2 separate regions of the Homo sapiens genome follow, and region 1 is linked to region 2. Evidence: promoter capture Hi-C in 16 types of primary human blood cells and fetal thymus (Javierre and others, 2016). All regions are on one chromosome and are shown on one strand. Each heading gives the region's core, a stretch centred on a gene start or on the middle of the fragment in contact. The rest is flanking DNA. Distances are from core to core; before and after follow the strand shown. Region 1 has its middle 15 kb from the start of CITED2. Region 2 holds the start of ECT2L (epithelial cell transforming 2 like).

Evidence for each region. The method cuts DNA at HindIII sites, captures the fragments that hold promoters and counts their contacts. A CHiCAGO score of 5 or more calls a contact.
Region 1: a fragment that was not itself captured here is called in contact with the fragment with the promoter of ECT2L in region 2 in 2 of 17 cell types (megakaryocytes and M2 macrophages); the score reaches 5.8 in megakaryocytes.

What each region holds. Positions count from the first base shown.
Region 1 is chr6:139,357,928-139,362,053 of GRCh38, reverse strand. No RefSeq gene overlaps it. Among named protein-coding and RNA genes, the nearest start is that of CITED2, 15 kb to the left of the region's middle. The HindIII fragment of the contact is 9,947 bases long and covers 1-4,126 here.
Region 2 is chr6:138,794,758-138,799,170 of GRCh38, reverse strand. ECT2L (epithelial cell transforming 2 like) reads right to left here and starts at 3,084. Exons shown (of 22, transcript NM_001077706.3): 1 at 2,979-3,084. The HindIII fragment of the contact is 4,734 bases long and covers 1-3,317 here.

The sequences.
Region 1 (4,126 bases), core at 564-3,063, 560 kb before region 2:
AGACTGAATAAGAAAACACCGCATAGCTTCCCCTTGGTTCTCTTGGGACACACGCCTCTGGAGCTCTGGGCTACAATATAAGAAGTCCAGCTACCCTGACACGGCCATGCTGTAAGGAAGCCATGCCACAGGGAAAAGCCATGTGTAGGTGCGTCCACCAGCAGCAGCAGCCAAGGTTCCCAGGTGATAGCCACTATCGACTGCCTCCAGGTGCTTCCAGGGTCCAGCTGTCGAGTGCCAGCATCTGTAGCATCTTCCCTGTGGAACCCCCAGGTATTATACGCTATGGAGCAAAGTCCTTGCACTAGCTCAGGCCAACTGAAATGGTGAATCTGGGCAGCCATGTTTATACCATAATGACCCTGTCTCCCAATGATACAGCAGATTGGACTATGGGCAAGTAGCTGTCAGGAAAGGCTAGCACATTGGCTGGCCGGGAAAACTCCAACAAAGAGACAGAGAAACTATAGTCAAAGAAAGCATGGAGGTGTTTTTAGTGAAATTATCTAATATTGACCCTGTAATGTCCTCTGGAAGCCATGCACTCATACTGAAGAGCAGAGAAACTGGTTTGCAGAAGTCAGCGGGAGAGTGGAACACATTGCCTGAACAAAGCAATAGTAAGAGACCATCTGGTGCTAAATCAAGATAGATGGAGAGGGAAGACACATCTGTCCCGGGCAACTTCCTGGTTTCCTGATTAGCACCCACCATACCCACAGTTCCTGTAAGATGTGTCTATGCCTTTTGTAATTTGTCTAACTTGAGGGATTTTGAGAATATCTATTTTATTACTCTGTGCTTTTGCACATGCTGCTCCCTCTGCCCAAAAGGCACTTCCTCATCTTCATTCCTTTGCTGAAATGTCCTTCAATACCCACCTTAAGTATCTTCTTCTCTGAGAAACTTCCTCATATACCTCCCTACTTTGCAGCACCCCTATACCTTATAAATACCTCTGTTTGTATGGATTACGTACACAGTATTACAATTATTTGATAATAAGTTTCTCTCTTCTACTTTGCAATCATATCTATTAAGAAATTTTTAGCTGCAAATAATAGAAATCCTGATTCTGGCTTAAACCATGAGAAATACATTTATTATCTGTCAAAAGTCAAGAAGGCAAGGGCAGGCTTCAGGGTTGATTAATTCACTGATCAATAATGTCCACAAAGACTCAGGCTTCTCTCATCTCTCTCCTGGGCTGTCGTCAGTGTTGGCCGCACCGTGGACCGGTGACAGGTGGCATGAGCAGAGCTCACGTGACAAGTAGGGAAAAGAAAACTTTCTCCAGAACCATCCTTTTCTTCATGTATCATGTCATGGACCAATTTCTGAACCAACCAACCACTGGGATTGGTTTTACCATGGGGTGGAATTATCACAATTGACTTAATCACCTCGGTGTGAAATGGATATTAAACTGACAACTCCATCACCAGAAGAGTTAACAGCGAAGCAGACCTTTTCTAAAATTTCTGTTTCAAGGCATAGATTTTAAGCTGTAATTGACAGGGACTCTTTTTAAAGTTTTTTTTTTTTCCAAATCTTCTTCATATAATAAAGACATATATAGCTAACAAAATTATATCATAAATCACTCAGAGAGGGTTTACTTGATTAAGGTTGAAATGTCTTCTATAAAGCAACATTTGTTAATATAAATAAATATTCTATTAAAAAGAAGTATATGGTCATTATGTCTTCATTTCTAGCCCTTCAAAATATGTTTGATATTCCCTTGTTAATATGACTAATAAGTAATTTTTCTGCACCAAGAAAATCATGTACATTTTGGCAGGTGATTAATCTCTGTGCAAAATGAACAGAATCTAATATTTATGAACAAATTACTGATAGCTATATAATCTATTTCCATAATAAATGCACTGGTCCGTATGACAAAGCCAAAAAGAATATAAAAACAGCCTGACAAGATTCAAACACGGAAGATAAGAAAACTCTAATATATGGCCGTGAACATCTTCTGTTCTGTCTACTCATTGCTTGTCCTACCCTTCCACAAAATGCCACTTTTTCACTTTAGTTACATACGTCCATGTGAAAATTCCCATAATCCTATGTGCCCTGGGCACAGTGAATGGCTAGGGGTGCCCAGATGGGCCCAGTTGAAACATTCATCACACTTTCATCTTACCCTCTGGCTGCAGCTAATTGGTCTGTGGATAACACTGACCCAACAGAAACCTTCCCACAGGAGTTAGCTTTCTTCCTTTCTTCTTCATTTTAGTAATTTTGGGGGCACAAATAGTTTTTTGTTGCACAGATGAATTATGTAGCAGTGAATTGAGATTTTAGTGCTCCCATCACCCATGTAGTGTACGTTGTACCTAATGTGTAGTTTTTTATCCCTAACCCCCCTTCCACCTTTCCTGTTCTGAGTACCTATAGTCCAATATATCACTCTGTATGCCTTTGCGTACTCACAGCTCAGCTTCCACTTATCAATGAGAACACATGGTTTTTGGTTTTCCACTCCCAAGTTACTTCACTTAGAATAATGGCCTCCAGCTTCATCCAAGTTGCTGCAAAGACATTATTTCATTCCTTTTAATGGCTGAGTAGTATTCCATGGTGTATATATACCACATTTGCTTTATCCACTCATTAGTCAAAGGGCACTTAGGCTAGTTCCACATCTTTGCAATTGTGAATTGGGCTGCTATAAACATGCACGTGCAAAGATTATTTTCATGTAATGACTTTTTTTCCTCTGGGTAGATACTCAGTAGTAGGGTTGCTGGATCAAATGGTAGATCTACTTTTAGTTCTTTAAGGAATCTCCATACTGTTTTCCATAGAGGTTGTACTAATTTACATTCCCATCAGCACTGCATAAAAGTTCCTTTTTCCCCATATCCATAGCAATATCTGTTGCTTTTGACTTTTTAATAATGGCCATTCTTGAAGGAGTAAGGTGGTATTGCACTGTGGTTTTAATTTGCATTCCTCCCCCTCCCCCAGGAGCTTTTAACTTGACAACAGAGAGATCAAGTTTTAAGTCCTCTTTAGTGATGAAACTATGAGCCTGTAAACTGCTGTTAGCCATACTTCCAGCCGTGTGAAAGAAGTGAGTGTGGGAGAATACACACTCTGTTCATCTGTATTCACACTGCTAAGAAGATATACCCAAGACTGGGTAATTTATACAGGAAAGAGATTTAATTGACTCATAGTTCAGCATGGCTGTGGAGGCCTCAGGAAACTTACAATCATGGCAGAAGAGGAAGCAAACACGTCCTTCTTCACATGGTGGCAGAGAGAACCATCAGATCTCGTGAGAACTCACTCAGCTATCACAAGAACAGCATGGAGGTAATTGCCCCCATGATTCAATGACCTCCCACCAGGTCCCTCCCACAACACATGGGGATTATGGGAACTACAATTCTAAATGAGATTTGGGTGGGGACACAGCCAAACCGTATCAACAGAAAATATGAAGAAAGAAGCAGAAACAAAAAGGTAATCTGTTACTATCTGAGTCCCTGAGGTCTAGGTGCAACTTAACCCTTCCTGAAGTTTGGTTACGAGAGACAATAAAATTTTCCCTTCCAGAACTAATTTGAATTGTGATCAAACACATGAAACAAAATTATCTTGACTAATCATACTAATACTAACACAACTTTCATCTCCACTGTATTTTGTTTGTTTGCTTGCTTGCTTTTAAATATTTTCCTGAAGTATATGTTTGGGAGGGACTTCTATTTTATGTATACTTTCAAAGTCACTTAAAAATGATCTTTTCAGGAAACAATATGAGAGATATAACATGTCTGTATTAAAATTCACTTTTTTTCTCCTTGGATAAGGCTTCTAGCATTGTCTTGCACCAATATTACAGTAAGTAATGGACATTGTGAAGTGCTGCTCAAATCCCCCTTCAGGACTGAAGAACTTCTTCCCTCCATTACTGGGAATACTGTCAGCAAATGGCCCTCAACTGACACCTTCTTCTGGAATTTCCTCACCACCTTGCTCAAGGTCACACCCCTTCTGGAGGCAGCCTGCATACAGTGTCTGGAATAAAGGCCTGGCTCTCTCGTCAAGTTGGGACAATTCTGGGAGACCACCCTAGGAGCTTCCCATGGATGAACTG
Region 2 (4,413 bases), core at 1,835-4,334:
TGAATTGGATATAAAAGGATATTAAAAGAAAAACTTCAGCCGAATTAAATTTACAGGAGTTTAATTGAGCAATGGACGATTCGTGAATCAGGCAGCTCCCAGAATCACAGCAGATTCAGAGAGACTCCCGGAGTGGCTTGTGGTCAGAACAAATTTATACACAAAAAAATGAAGTGATGTACAGAAATCAGAAATTAGGTACAGAAACAGCTGGATTGGTTACAGCTCAGCATTTGCCTTATTTGAACACAGTTTGAACACTCAGCAGTGTATGAGTGGTTGAAGTACGGCTCCTGGGATTGGCCAAGACTCAGCGATTATTACAGGCACATACTCCTAAGTTAGGTTTTCATTCTTGTCTACCTATTAAATTAGGTTGCAATTCACCCACAAGCATTCAAATATAAAAGTACAGAGTCCATCTTAGGCCATATTTAGTTTGCTTTAACAACTGCTACGGATGTATTTGGAAATACACTTCTATGTCGTGGCTGACTATCCTTTACAACTGGTATATTGATGAGGAACTCGGAAATTGACATTGGCACTTCCATGCTTAGTCAAAAGAAGGATGGGGCCTGTTGTGTGACAACCTGTGATATGGTAGAATAATAAGAAATATATATATTTGATCTTTGTCCCTGGTTCCTGACATACAGCTCCTAAAACTCTTGTAGATAGGGATGCTAGGAGAATCTTTTGTTCTAATATTTGGTTTTTGACCCCAGTTCCTGACACAGAGCTCCGAAATCCCTTGGAATTTCCTGGGTGATAGGAGCATCTTTTGTTCAGATGAAGTGAATCTTGGTGGACCCCTAGATAGCTTCAGGATGGGGGCTGGTTACCAGGGAAACCAACCATGTGATTATGCAGCTGGAACTTTCAGCTCCATCCTCTGACCTCTGGGGAAGAGAGAAGGGCTCAAGTTGAGTGATCACCAATGGCCAATGATGTCATCAATTGTGCCTATGAATGAATCCTCCATTAAAATCCCAAAGGACAAGATTCAGGGATCTTTGGGATAGCTGAACATGTGGAGGGGCTGAGAAGGCATGGAAGTTCCACACCCTTGCCCACATACCTTTCTCTGGGCCTCTCTTCTATCTGGCTATTCATCTGTCCTTTGTAATATCCTTTATAATAAATGGGCAAACATAAGTAAAGTGTTTCCTTGAATTCCGTGAGTCACTCTAGCAAATTAATCAAACCGGAGGAGGGGCTTGTGGGAATCCAGATTTGTAACTGGTTGGTTAATCATAAACAACATATAGTCACAACCTGGGACTTGTGATTGGCATTTGAAGTGGGGGGCAGTCTTTTGGGACTGAGCCCTGAACGTATGGGATCTGACACTAACTCCAGGTACACAGTGTCAGAACTGGGTTAAATTATAGGACGTAGAGTTGGTGGCCACTGGAGAATTGGTTGTCGGTGGGAAGAAATTCCCATACATTTTGGTGACAAGAGGTGAAGGGCTGTACTGAGTGTGTGAGAGTAAAGAGAAAAAAGTTTTTTGTTTTTTTTTTCCTCTCAGAACAACCAAAGCCAGATTAAAAGATGAAATGGCTGAACAATTGCCAGCCCATATAGAGAGCTAAATCCTCACTGGGATCACACAGAAGAGCAATGATGTCAATTAACTGTGTTTCCACAGGTTATCTGTTATACAGCTGGAGAAATGCAAGTTAGTCTGGTCCTTCTCCACTACAGTAGACAGAGTGGCTTAGAAATTAAAACACTGCTCCTCGGCAGAGGTATGTACCTACATGCGCGTACTTCTGCAATTCACACATGCAAATTGTGCAATGATTCCTTTATTTATCAAAAATTTACTTCCTTAAATATGCCTCCAAAAAGGTATCTGGTTCTAAAGATCGCACAAAAGAACGGGAGTAGAAGAAAAGTAAGTGTGATTGGTGAAAAAACAGAAATGAAAGACAATTCCAGTTGAGTTAAATGTCCCACATTTAGGGCATGTAAAACTACATGCCAGTATATAATTTTTATTAAGTACACACTAAGCAATGGATAATGAAAATAATGGCGTGTTTTGAGGAAACCTGGGCTATTGATCTTACAGGCGGTGATAGAAAATACCATACTTGTGCTGGTATTTTCAAATGGTGGATGTGCTCACTGATTTATAAGTTTAAAGCTATAAAACTAAAGCTGTAACAAACAAGATGCAACTGTTGCTATAAAACTTCCAAGTCCTTAACCCTTCTTCCTCCCACTGAAATAAGTGTTTGTAGAGCATGATTTTTGAGGTTTCTGTGGAGCACAAATGTCAGTTCCTGCAGAACAGACTTTAACAGGCTTGGATACAATTGCATGGGTTGCAGTGAACTTTAACACCAATGATGTCAGGATATTGTGTTCTGATACATATGCAAAGTTTATTAATAAGCACAGCATCGGTATTTTTAAATCGATATTTTAAAGTACCACTGTTTTATTTGTCCTGCTCATCAAATCTTAGCATATTAACTCTTAGAGCTATCCTTATAACCAAGACCTATATTCACAGTAGATTTTTTGTATTCCTCCCTCATTCCCCCAACCCAGCCCCCACCCTACTCCCTACATTTTTGGACCCCATAGGAGGAAAGAGGGAGAGAACTGTCAGAAGGAAGAAGGCAGTTGGTGTGAACCTATGAAAATCAGCGTTTTCCAAAGTGTTCAAGAACTTTACTTCGATCCCAAATCAGTTCTCTGGAGGAGGTAAGAGTTTACTTGGCATGGCCCGATGCAAACCCTACCCTACGCGTGGATTTTGTTTCTCCCCAGAGCCTCTTCAGAATCTTGGTTAATTCCAGAGCTGCTAAGGGACTCCAGGGTCGCGGAGGGAGGGCCCTGCGCCCCTCAGCGCTGCTTAGGGTCTTCCTGGGCGACTGCACTGGGAAACTAAGCCGGCCCAGGCGATGTGCCCCGGGCGGCCCCAAGAAAAAGACTAGCGGCTCAGAAGCCACGGGCTTTACCTCTAGGAAGTGGCTATGAGGCCCGGTACAGTGGCGGCTGTCTCCTCTTGGAACCGCGCAGTGAAAATCGAGTGCGCCAACTCGGGCCGCAGCTCCGGAGAGGGGTGGGGCAGGGACAGGGTCATCTCCATAGGGATCCAACAACACGGAGCCACCACCCCGCCCCACAGGCCCGCAGCCCCTCCCGCCGCCGCGCCCGGACGGCCAACCTGCATCTCCCCAGCTGCAGTGAGCAAAGCCGCCCGCGCCGTGCGAGCCACCGCCCTTCTCTTGAGGCCAGCTAGGCTCGGGTCCCGGCTCCTTTCCCTGCCTCCAGGGAGCTTGCGGTGGGAGAAAGCTTCCGTGGGGTCCCGTGGGTCGCGGCACGTCTCGGAAGCCCTGCGAGGTGCCCAGCAGAGGTGCCAGACCCAAGGCCGTGGGACCCCAAGAAGAGACTTGGACACTGAAGCCAACGTTTGCTTGATCTCAAACAAAGCCAGCGATGTTAATTAAGGCTGTGTGATGAGGAAAGTGGAGTTTCTTATTTTTTGTCACATTCATCTTCAGCAGATCCTCAGAAAATGTTAATATTTACTGCAGAATTACCAATTTCAGCATTATACAGGAGGTACAAAAACAAAACCAAAAAACCCTTCTTCATTAGTTTCAGGTCAAAATGTCTTTTAACTATTTATTGTGAAGCCTGTTTTTTTCTTTTGTATGTAATAGTTATGGCCATGAAAAGATGCTCACAGTACATTACTTACAAAAAGCAGCTTAGAAAACCAGCAGAATGGTACGATCTATTTTTTTTGCAACGTGTGTAAGAAATCTGGGAGTATGTACACAAATAGGTTAAATGGTTTGCTCTGGTAGTTTTAAAAATCATCTGTAATTCAATTTTTCCTACAACGAATAAGCAACATCTATGTAATAAACCATAAGTTTCATTCTAGTAAAGTTTCATATGAGAAATGTGATCTTGCTATGCTGCCTAGGCTGGAGTGCAGTGGCTATTCACAGGCCTGGTCATTGTGCACTATATTTTTATTTTTATTTCAAATATCTTTTTCTTTTTCATCTGTATGCCAGTAAAATCATCATTGTACACTATAGCCTAGAACTCCTGGGCTCAAGCAATCCTCCCGCCTCAGCCTCCAGAGTAGCTAAAAGTACTGGTGCCTGTCACCAAACCAGGCCTTAAATTTTATTCTAATCCAGGCACTGCATTTTTTCCTGTTTCCTTGAACATGTGTTTAAGGAGTGTGAAAGGATACAAATTAGATAAGCTAATATTTCGCTACCTGGGACCCATTTAGGGCCCTGTGACACAAAGGGCGAATGAACCAAGTGAATAAACAAGGTCAATCCACTGCTCTGTCACAACCCGCAGGAACCAGCTTTTTGCTTTACTCTATCTCAGGACCAATCCAAGAAAAACATGTCACATGACAAA